Linked DNA regions of Homo sapiens: region 2 is linked to region 1. The links are contacts of gene promoters, found by promoter capture Hi-C in blood cells and fetal thymus (Javierre and others, 2016). All regions are on one chromosome and are shown on one strand. The core of a region is centred on a gene start or on the middle of the fragment in contact, and the rest is flanking DNA. Distances in the headings are between cores, read along the strand shown. Region 1 holds the start of AKAP3 (A-kinase anchoring protein 3). Region 2 holds the start of TSPAN9 (tetraspanin 9).

Region 1 (5,707 bases), core at 1-2,500:
AAGGTTTTTTTCTCTCTTCCAATTCAATTTGTTAGGCGACACTTCAGTAAACAGTAGGGGCAAGATAGAGTGGAAACAGCCAAGATTTCAAGCCTAGTAATAAGCAACTTCTACATCCCTACTCATCACAGGCCTTTTTGTCTATCCCAGAAACACATACTTTTCCTGAAAAAACAAAGCACTGGAAGGATTACCAAGTCTAGAAAGAACCCGCCCTCCCCAAACTAGGTGGTTTTCTGATAAGCCTAAGGTATGTTTCACAGGATCACTGGTTGCCATCTCCTACCCAGCAATCTGGAGAGGTTGACCAGAATAAAGTATTTTAAAATCCAAGCGCTTAGTCTAACCTGGAATTTCCTCAGTTTCTAGATGGCTCTTTGTAGAACAATGCAGATTCTCAAAGGTGACCACAGTTAAAGAAAAAATTACAAGCCATTGCGCTAGAGAGAGCCATCTGCAGTTTCTCCTTAGACAGATGTTCAGATGGCACACATGGCCACTAAATTTGCATAATATTTCAGGAAGTTCACAGATTTCCCGAAGCCCACTCATGAATCACACTTCTGGTTAAGAACTCCTAGATTCATATGCTAGTTGGTGATAAGTGCTTTGGTATATAAACTTAAACCAAAAATTGGTGGAATAATTACCACCTTGGATAGGATGGTCAGAGAAGTTTTATCCGAAGAGGTCACTTTTGAGCAGAGACTTGAGCTGGTGCAGACACCTGAGTGTGCATTCCAGGAAACGCGAACAGCAGGCGCAAGGGTCCCTATGAGAGAATGTGCTTGGCGGGCTCGACGCACATTTATTTACTTGGGACACACCCTATTTTGGTTTCTCTTCTCCACTTTTCCCCTCGTTCTTGTCCCCCCTTTTCTCTCTCCTGGGCCCTGGATCTCCTGAGCGCGGAGGGCTACGCCTCCTTCTTCCTCCGGACTCACCAGGGCTGCCAGCTTAGCTTACATTTTCAGGGAACAGGAAACTGAGAGTCAGGAAAGGTGAGCTCTTCTACCTCGGGTCTTGCCATTTTGCATGTCCTGAGTCAGTCACTGGTTAACTCTGAACTTCAGGTTCCTCGGCAATTAGAGATTATAAATAGCCTATACAGCCTATTCCAGATCTGAGATTCCAACAGCCAAAGTCTTTTCACTTCCTTTCTTCCCCCTCTCCTTCACTTTCCCAGCTTTCTTCTTAACCAACAATCTACCCGAAACCGTCGTTTCTTGGTTAGCGCTTGCGCAGACAGGCGAGAAAGGTAAGTTTTGACCCAGCTTAGCAGCCGTAGTCAGCCGGGAGTGCTGTCGTGGGGGATTGTGGGAAAAGATGGCGGCTGCCGCACAATCCCGGGTTGTCCGGGTCCTGTCAATGTCACGTAAGTGTTACCGGGAACGGCGGCCCCTGGTCGGGATTCCGAGACGGGGATTTAAGGTTTTGGAAGTGGCACCGTGCTGCAGCGGTCACGCCAACTTCCTAGGCACACTCTGGTTTCTCTAGGTTTGGAGCTGCCTCAGTCTGGTTTCTCCTTTCGCTTTCCGCTTCCCCGGCTCACATATTCAATTGTGCACCACCTTGGGAGGGGACAAAAGATCTTAAGCAGCTGTAAGCGAAGAGGAGAATGCGGGGGACACGTTAGGGATCGAGAGAATCAGAATTCTGATATGGTTGTAAGGGTTTAGGGTTATGAGAAATATTTGTATGGGGCGGGGGGAGAAATGTGTAAGGGAGGGAAAAAAGGCTAGTGGCGAGAGGTTTTCTTAGATTGATTTTATGACCTTGTGCAAACCCTTAATGGGTCTCAATTCATATGAGCACAATGGAAATGATAATATTACAATACCAGGGAGTCTCTGATAAGATTAAATGAGCTAATATTTGTAAAAGCATCCTTTTACCCAAAAGCGTCTCTACGGATGTAGAATGTGTTCGGCAAAGTGCGTTGGGGTCTGGGGGAGAGAGTGATGTTTGAGGAGAGAAGAATCAGGAGCTTGGTGGAAAGGAAAGTGAAGAATGAAGGCTATGTTAGAATTTGTTAGCATTATTTAGTTTCTCTTCTGTTCTGATTGGATCTGCTCCCACTCCTCAAACTGAAAACATACATTTGTCCTTCCACTCACTAAAAAGCAAGGAAATTAGAAATACGGTTACACTTCATCATTGTCCTTTCACCCTCTACTCTTCCACAAACATATTCCAATCAAACCCCCAAAGTTGTATTTTTCTTAGTGTATTTTAGTCGTTACAGAATATCATTTGCTTTCAAAATTGGCTCATGTCAGAATCACTCGTAAAGCTTTATAAAAATTAGAAATGAGGACTGAGTGTAGAGCTATTGAGTCAGAATTTGTGAGATTAGCTCCTTGCACCTTAAATTTTTAAAAGCACCACAGATAGGCTTGATGTTCAGCCTGAGGCAAGAATTAGGAGTGTTTAGAGGATCCTTTTTTTTTTGTTTTCCATCTTGGGTAGAACTCCTGCATACCACTGGGAAGGTGGTGGTGCACATCACTTATAGTGGATGGTTTTGTAGTCACAATGTCTTTGCAAAGACATTTGCTGGTTCTTGTTAAACTATTACAATTGTATGACGTAATGTAGATTGTGAATGGTAATCACTATTTATTGAGTACCTGCTATCTGCAATCTCCAGTTCTAGGTATTTTTATTAATTTTCCTCTTTTAACTTACTTTCCTCTGACTGACACCATAGCTTGTGTTCTTAACCACTCTGCGTTATTGTCTGGTAAAGTAAGTTTTTGAGTAAATTCTGTAGAGGCAAGTCTAGTATGTAACATAATCCACACACTATAGGACAGAACTGTGTAAGACAACTATATATAGTTAAGTGTGGCAAGACTATTAAGTATCACAGGAAATCATAAAAGGGAAAGATTAGTATCATTTGAGGTACTGAGGGATGATTGGAAGACCAGTGGAGAATTGTAGTGCTCCCACTGGTCTCTTTAGGGCTGTTATGATCTGGAAAGTCCTCTGGCAAAGACAAGTGGGTGAGAATGGAGTCATGAGGTATTCAAGAGGCAGTGAAATGACTACCTGAATATCTGGGATAGTGGAAAAGGAGGTTGAATGTGTTAGATGGGATCAGACAATGGAGACCTTTGAAAGCCAAGCAGAGTTTAGATCGGTAGTCTCCAAAGGGAGTTGTGCAAGAGGACCTAATAAGTTGTGGAAATATAAATTAGAACTCCTAAAAATTGCTTTCTATAGTAATAATAGCTAACACTTATGTAGTTTAAACTGTATGCCACACACTATTCTAAGTAATGTATGATTTATAATGTGTATATCATATTGGTACTACATAGAACGTGCATATAATTTTTTAAATAAATACTTAAAAAAATTAATGCAGTGTGCAAGCAAATATGTCTGGACTATTGGTTTGGGTATTGCAGTAGGAAACTAATGTAGGTTTTTAAGCAGAGAAATATAATGAATATATAATTAATAAAGAATATCATTCTTCTAATAGTACTCATAATAAATGGAAGAAAGTGGAGAGGCTGGAACCAAAGAGAGTAATAATTTATATTTATTGAGCACCTAGTATTTGCAAGGCACTGTGACAGATGCTTGCCCATATGTTATTCTCATTAACCCTTTAAACTGTGAGCTTCATGAAGCCAGGGTTTTGTATTTTACTGTGATAGTCACAGTTTCTAGAATAATTCTTGGCCCATAATTATTAAAAAAAAACAATAGCCATGTGAGGTTAGTGTGACATTACCTTCTGAGAAATTTCAAAGTAATAAAAGCAACTATTATTCATAGAATGCTTAATGTGCTCTAGGTAATGTGCTACGTGGTTTATGTATGTTTAATCCTCTTAACAGTCCTTTGAGGTATTAATTCCTCAACTCAAGTAATTCTTCCCAGTTCATTGACTCTGCCATCTTTTGCCTGTCTTATCCTATGTCCTCATTTCCTTACTCTTCACTCTTATCATTCCCTTTTATGCATCCTCAACTCCCCAGCCCAACTCCCATTGTCGTAAAAAACATTGACCCTGATTAAACAAAACTTTCCACGTAATTTGCTGCCTGCCACTGAGCAATGGAGAACGGGGCTAGGGAAAACTTCAGACTAACTGGCCTTATTTTAAATTCATGAATACAAATCTCAAGTAGATTTTCAGTGCTACATTTTTCTAGGAAATTTGGTTTCCTTGTCTCCATAATCATTACTTAACATAGCGAGTTTCCTAAAACCTCTAACATGTGCTTTTGTCTCATTCTCAGCTTTACAGAGAAATCAAAGGAATCAGATGAGAACAGTCATTTTCCCACCATAAACTCTAATAGTTGATATGTGATAATTCTTTGCCTTTTCTCTTGTTACAGTGGGTGAGCTCCTTCTGTTCCAATCTGTGGCCAGTTCCTTCACTTTGCATTCAATCTTATCCTCTCTCAACTATTCATTCCCTTTCCTGAATCAGTAATTTTCTACCTCTACCATGGAAATCATGTCATTTCCATCAGCACATAAATGTTAACTCATATTTAAAACAAACAAACAAACCTATTCCTGTCCTTGTTTTCTCTAGTTCCATTTCTCCTTTTTCAGAAGGATTGTGTATACTCCTCATCTACTTCCTTGCCTCACAGCCTCTCTTGTTTGCTCCAGTCTGGCTTTCAGTCCCACTAATCCAATAAAATTGCTCTTATTTATGCCACCTACAGCCACATCCTCCAGCTTCTGTGGTCCTCTGTCCTCTTCCTACTTCACTTTCAGCATTTGGTAAAGTTAACCATTCTCTCCTTGAAACAGTTTCTTATTTTGGGTTTTTAGATTCTGTTTCCTTCTGAGTTTTTCTCCTACCTCATGGGACTGCTTTTTAATCTCCTTTACTAGTGCTTTGGGCTAGTCACTAACCTTATCCATAAAGTGGTGATAAAGATAGCATTAAAAAAGATAATACCTATGCAGCACTTAGAATAATGCTGGACACCTGCCAAGAGCTCTGTAAAGGTAGCTGTTAATATGATGTTATTATTTTGTTATTATGATGTGTGGTCCATGATGTTTACTTTTAATTTCTGTCACTATCAGTGAGCTAGGCTATTTCTCCAATTCAATACTTTTGGATAGGGAAGAACAATGACCTTTGGGCAGAATGCCACCTGAAAGTCATCCCTAGAAACAAACACAGATTTTCTAAAGAAAGTCCTGTTTGTGTCTTTCACCTCTCCCAAGTGTACAAAGCACGAATGCTAAGCTCCGAAGTTTGTTGATTGGAGCAGAAGTGCGTTAGCACTTTAAACCTTTTTGTTTCTACTTACATGAAAGTTGAGCAGCTAACTCTAAAATTCTATTCTAAGGAGTTAGCAATAACTTGAAAACTGGAATGTATCCAAAAGAGATTCTCATTCCTGCCATATGAAGAATATTTGACAGGACAGGGAATGTTTAACCTGGAGAAGAAAATATTTAGTGGGGCTATAATTGCTACACTTAATTGTAGAAGAGGGATTAGACTTGTTCTTTGTCATTCTGGAGGAACACAGGGATAAAAACTTCTGGGAAGCAGTCACTGATTCCCCTTGTGGTAGAACTTTCTTTCTGTTAGAATGGCTCAAAGCAGAATGGGCAGCTACAGGAAGTAGTGAGTTTCCCAACTCCACAGGTGTTCAGGCAAAAGCCAGATGATTTCTTTGCACACATGCTGTAGAGAAGATGTAAGCATTGG
Region 2 (5,707 bases), core at 1,161-3,660, 1.6 Mb before region 1:
TTTAGCAGAGACACGGTTTCACCATGTTGGTCAGGCTAGTCTCAAACTCCTGACCTCAGGTGATCCGCCCACCTCGGCCTCCTAAAGTGCTGAGATTACAGGTATGAGCCATCGTGCCCAGGCGACTTTTTTTTTTTTTTTTGACAGAGTCTCGCTCTGTCGCCCAGGCTGGAGGGCAGTGGCATGATCTTGGCCCACTGCAACCCCCCGCTCCCGGGTTCAAGCGATTCTCCTGCCTCAGCCTCCCAAGTAGCTGGGATTACAGGCGCCCGCCACCACGGCCAGCTAATTTTTGTAATTTTAGTAGAGACAGGGTTTCACCACGTTGGCCAGGCTAATCTGGAACTCCTGACCTCAGGTGAGCCACCCGCCTCGGCCTTCCAAAGTGCTGGGATTACAGGCGTGAGCCACCACGCCAGGCCCAGGCGATTTTTATAGATGTGGAAACTACTATTCTGTACTGGTAGACATGAGAGTGGAACTCTTTTTTTTTAGACGAAGTCTCGTCCTGTTGCCCAGGCTGGAGTGCAGTGGCACGATCTTGGCTCACTGCAACCTCCGCCTCCCAGGTTCAAGTGATTCTCCTGTCTCAGCCTCCCGAGTAGCTGGGATTACAGGCCCGGCTAATTTTTGTATTTTTAGTGGAGACGGGGTTTCACCATGTTGGCCAGGCTGGTCTCAAACTCCTAACCTCAGGGGATTCACCCACCTCAGCCTCCCGAAGTGCTGGGATTATAGGCATAAGCCACTGCGCCTGGCCGAGAGTGGAACTCTTCATACATTCTACCTCTCACTCTACCCTCAGGTCATCTCCATGTCAGAGGGGTGGTGGAAGTCTCTTCAGGTGGAAGATTCCTCCGAAGTAACTTTGTGCATTACACTCTGGATGGAGCAGTAGTTAACTGTGCAGGCCCTCCAGCCAGACAACCTGGGGTTATATCCTAGCTTAGTCAATTGCTGGTGAAATGACCTTGGAGAAATTACTTAACCTGTCTCAGCCTCAGTTTCCTCATCTGTAAAAATGTCGGGATGGTGATGCTACTACCTACCTCATGGTGTTGTTGTGAGGATCAGTGGGTTAGAACATGTAAAGTACTTAGAACTGTGCCTGGCACATAAACAGTACATGTTAGCTGTTAGCTGCTTTGCAAGTCACTTGAAACCTATGGCCGAATGTGAAGTGTTGGCGGAACCCCGCTCCGGCAGCGTGCACTTTCGCCACTAGGTGTCGCAATTCAGCAGGCACAGTCCTGAAGCTTGACTTGGGGTGGTTGGCTGGGACTTTAATTTTAGCCTATTGTCATTTTTGATTTGATTTGGTGATTTCAAGGGGATAAACTGACATGCTATCCTTTGAAGTCCCTGGGGATCCAGAAATTCCAGCAGAGTTGCTGACATCCAGGCCTGGAAGGAGCTGTTTGGAGTCCTGCCTTTGTTCACAGTTAAAATGGCATATAATTTATCATCCACGCCAGGATATTTCGAGAGTGAAAGGGGACTTAGGAACTATGCCAGGACAAGAGGAGTAAGTAGGATGTGCCCCCGAAACCTGGATACAGTCACCCTACCTATATCTAACCTCAGCATTTTTCAGAATCTCCTCCAGAAGGGAAATGCAATGACATTTCCTCAGAAGCCTGGTATGATAAGCAGTGACTTCATGCGTTTGTAAGTCCCTTCCCCAAGAGGGTGGTGCGTCATTGTCAGGTTTACTTGCGTTTAGTCCTCAGTGGACACTATCAGTGTGTCTGCTTCACAGACCACTAGTCACCTTTGTGTCCTTTATGCTGAATAATCCCATCTCCTCTACAGCTTTTCTTCAGAGCTTCCTTCCAACTGTCAGCCCCTCAGAGGCACTGAGGCATTCACCTCTGAATGTGGTGAAGGAGAGTGAGCAGTGAAGCCATTTTCTGGGCTATTGCTGAGGGATTTCTTCTAAGATTTCATCTATCTCTAAGACTTCAGAATTCCATTATTTCAGATTTGCTCTAATTAATTAATTAATTTGAGACAGAGTCTCACTCTGTCACCCAGGCTGGAGAGCAGTGGTATAATCATGGTTCACTGCAGCCTTGACCTCCTGGGCTCAAGCAATCCTCTCACCTCAGCCTCCCGTACAGGCATGTGCCACCACGCCCATGCACACCTGGCTAATTTTTGTATTTTTAGTAGAGATGGGGTTTTGCCATGTTGGCCAGGCTGGTCTCGAACTCCTGGGCTTGAGTGATCCACCTGCCTTGGCCTCCCAAAGTGCTGGGATGACAGGTGTGAGCCACTGTGCTCCGCCTATCTTTTTTTAAAGGGCAGGAGGACTTTGGGAGGCCAAGGTGGGAGGATTGCTTGAGGCCAGGAGTTCAAAACTAGCTTGAGCAACATAGTGAGGCCTCTGTCTCTACAAAACAAAACGAAAACGAAAACAAAAACAAAAACAAAACAAACAAAAACCCCAATTAGCTGGGTATGGTGGCATGCACGTGTGGTCCCAGCTACTTAGGAGTCTGAGGTTGGAGGATCCTTGAGTCCAGGAGTTGGAGGCTGCAGTGAGCCATGATGGCACCACTGCCCTCCAGCCTGGGTGGCAGAACAAGTCCCTGTCTCAAAAACAACAAAACAAAACAAAAACCAAAAAGGGCAGGAGGAAGCTAGCATTTGTAGAGCAGTCACCACACATCACATGTTGTGCTTTTACTCCATCATCTTGGTCAGCCCATCAACCCTGTGGAATTGGTTTTTTTTTTTTTTTTTTTTTGAGACAGTCTCGCTCTGTCGACCAGGCTGGAGTGCAGTGGCACGATCTTGGCTCACTGCAACCTCCGTCTCCCAGGCTCAAGCAATTCTCCTGCCTCAGCCCTCCGAGTAGCTGGGATTACAGGCATGTGCCACCACACCCGGCTAATTTTTGTATTTTTAGTGGAGACGGGGTTTCACCATGTTGGCCAGGCTGGTCTCAAACTCCTGATCTCAGGTAATCCACCCGCCTCGGCCTCCCTAAGTACTGGGATTACAGGTGTGAGCCACCATGCCCATCCCCATAATTGGTATTCTTATGCCCCATTCCACAGGTGAGAAAACAGGCCTGAAGAGGTCCCAGCCGATAAAAGCAGAGCCAGGATTCAGACAGGTGTGTCTGGCTCCCAAGCCCTGCGGCTACTCCCTCACCAGGCTGCGTCCAATGGTCTGCCAGTGAGTTGGCTTGCTGGCAGACAATCCTAGTATATCTCTTTCCCTGTCTGAGACCCAGTTTCCTTTTCTGGGTACATGTACCCAACTCTGCCGCAGTGACTGGAGAGATTGGGGCTGGTGGGGGTTCCTTGGGAAGACTTTGTTATAGGGGCATTGAACAGGGCTTTGGATGAAGCAAAATGTAGAAGGAGAATATTTTCCTTGTGGGGAAAGGGAGATCAGAAGGAAATGGGTTATGGGTTTAGTCTAATAGACAAAAACAAGGTTGCATGTGTGTGACGGAAAGGGGCCCAGAAGATGAGTGGAAACTTCCAGTCTAATTAGCAGAAAGCAAAAGTGACCCTAGTGATTATAGCCAGGTTTTAAAAACTTGTCCCCAGTCAAGCTTAGTGCAATGGTAGGGCACGTGGGAAGCACAGCATACAGTTTCTTTAAAATTTAAAAAAATTTCACTTTTAAAGACAGGGTCTCCCTCTACTGCCCAGGCTGGAGTACAGTGGCATGATCCTAGTTTACTGCAGCCTCCAACGCCTGAGCCTCAGCCTCCGGAGCAGCTGGGACTACAGGGGTGTGCCACCACACCCGGTTAATTAAAACATTTTTTTTTTGAGATGGGGTTTCCCTATGTTGCCCAGGCTGTTCTTGAATTCCTGAGTTCCTGAGCTCAAGCAATCCTTCCACCTGGGCCCCCCAAAGTCCTGGGATTACACGCGTGAGCCACCACACCTGGCCTAGAAGACATTTTTGATGACAGTAATGATGAGAAGAGATGGCGTTTTAGTGCTCTTTGGAAACAAGTTTAGGCCTTCTAGCTTTAAGAATCCGGGCCTATAATCCCAGCACTTTGGGAGGCAGAGGCAGGAGGATGGCTTGAGCCCGGGAGTTTGAGACCAGCTTGGGCCCAGGGAGACCACCGTCTGTACAAAAAAAATCAAAAACTTCGCCGGACGTGGTGGTGCGCGCCTACAGTCCCAACTACTCTGGAGGCTGAGGCGGGATCACTTGAGCCCGGGAAGTCGAGGCTGCAGTGAGCCGTGATCGCACCACTGCACTCCTGCCTGGGCAACAGAGTGAGTCCTTGTCTCAAGAAAAAACAAAACAAAACAAAAAGCAAAAAACACATAAAATCCAGGCCTGAAAAAGCGCCCGGGCCAGACATGCCTAGCTGGAGTTTCTCCTGCCTTAGCGCACCCCTCAGGCACACGGTGCCCTGTAGTCGCCCTTGGAGGCCGCCAGCTCCTGGGGAGGCATGGCCCTTTCTGCGGGAGGTGTCTCAGGCAGGCTCCAACACACACCCGCGCTGTCAGCATCTCGCACAGTCCGCCCGAAACACCAGGGAAGGGGTTCGTAGGTGTGGGGGTGGGGTGGCGAGGCCAGGCAGCCTGGCGCGAGGGAGAGAGCCGAGGCCTGGGCCAGGAAGGCCCTTGGGTGCCGTGTGGGCGCAGAGCCCAGGAGAGCGCACTGCCAGGCCCGGACCTCCCCGCCCCTACCCCGGGAAGAGGCCCGTTCGCCGCAGGGGGAAGGCGGGATCATAGCACCTCGGAGGAGCGGCCGGTCCGGGCATGCGGGCGGCGGGGCGGGGAGGGAGGCTTCCGGAACCCCGAGAGAGCACCCGTGCCTCGCGGGCCCCGTGCCCCGTCCCCGGGCTCCCCTTCCTCTAACGCAGGGGACCCAGCCCGGGGCAGTGCCGGGCACTGGCGCTGGCGCCCCGCTCAGCCCTGCGATCCTTCTCCGCCCCGCCCCTCCCCGCTCCGCCCCGCCCCTCCCCGCTCCGCCCCCGGGCCGCCCCGCCCCGCAGGCTCGCCATTCCCGGGCAGGCCCCGCCCCCTGTTTCCGCTGGCGGCGGCGGCGGCGGCGGTGCCGGAGCGCGAGCAGAGCGGAGACCCCCAGGTCCTGCGGGCGCGGTGAGTGCGGCCCGGGCGGCGGGCGGCGAGGCGGGTCTCGAGAGCGTGCGGAGTCGCGCGGCCTTGAGCCGGCGCCGGGCGGGCTGGGCACCCCCAGGCCGAGACCCGAGAAGGGGGAGCGGCCGGGGGCGCCCACGGGAGGCAGTGTGGGCAGGGCGGCGGTGGGACGAGAGGACGAGGAACAGAGTAGGCGCCGTGCGGGAAGCGGGCCGGGAAGGGGAGGGTGGGTGCGGGGCCCGGGCACCGAGCGAAGTGGGGTCCTCCAGGGGATGGCTCCGAGGAAGACCGTTTCAGAAAGGGAGTAACCCGGGGCCGGCAAGGGTTTCCGACTGTGTGACCCCGTGCACCGCTTGGGACAGTCCATACAAGGACCCCAGAGAGGGCCAGGGGGCCTTCGGGCAGGGCTGGGATATGGCCTGCAGCCCCCCGGCACCCGCGACCGCTCCCTGGGCCACTGCTGGAAGATCAGCACTCCGAGTGACAGGACTCTGGCACATCCCGAAGTTGGAGATCTAGCCCATCTGTGCATTCAAGTTTGGGACTTCAAAAAACTTTCTTGTGGTTTTTAAAAAAAGATCCAAACAAGAAACCGGCTTGTTGTTGTAAGAGCAATATTTGTA

Evidence for each region. Contacts are between HindIII fragments. The CHiCAGO score rates a contact against its expected background, and 5 or more counts as called.
Region 2: a contact is called between a fragment that was not itself captured here and the fragment with the promoter of AKAP3 in region 1, in 2 of 17 cell types (activated CD4 T cells and non-activated CD4 T cells). The highest score is 8.6, in activated CD4 T cells.

Annotation. Positions count from the first base shown.
Region 1 is chr12:4,647,801-4,653,507 of GRCh38, forward strand. It overlaps AKAP3 (A-kinase anchoring protein 3), which reads right to left and starts at 1,251. Exons shown (of 6, transcript NM_001278309.2): 1 at 945-1,251. It overlaps NDUFA9 (NADH:ubiquinone oxidoreductase subunit A9), which reads left to right and starts at 1,314. Exons shown (of 11, transcript NM_005002.5): 1 at 1,314-1,375. The coding sequence starts at 1,327. RefSeq lists enhancers at 676-725, 1,006-1,215, 1,084-1,739. The HindIII fragment of the contact is 2,310 bases long and covers 1-2,291 here.
Region 2 is chr12:3,072,367-3,078,073 of GRCh38, forward strand. TSPAN9 (tetraspanin 9) reads left to right here and starts at 5,013. Exons shown (of 9, transcript NM_006675.5): 1 at 5,013-5,087. RefSeq lists an enhancer at 1,077-1,371 and silencers at 1,153-1,302, 4,519-4,568, 4,619-5,118. The HindIII fragment of the contact is 2,312 bases long and covers 1,255-3,566 here.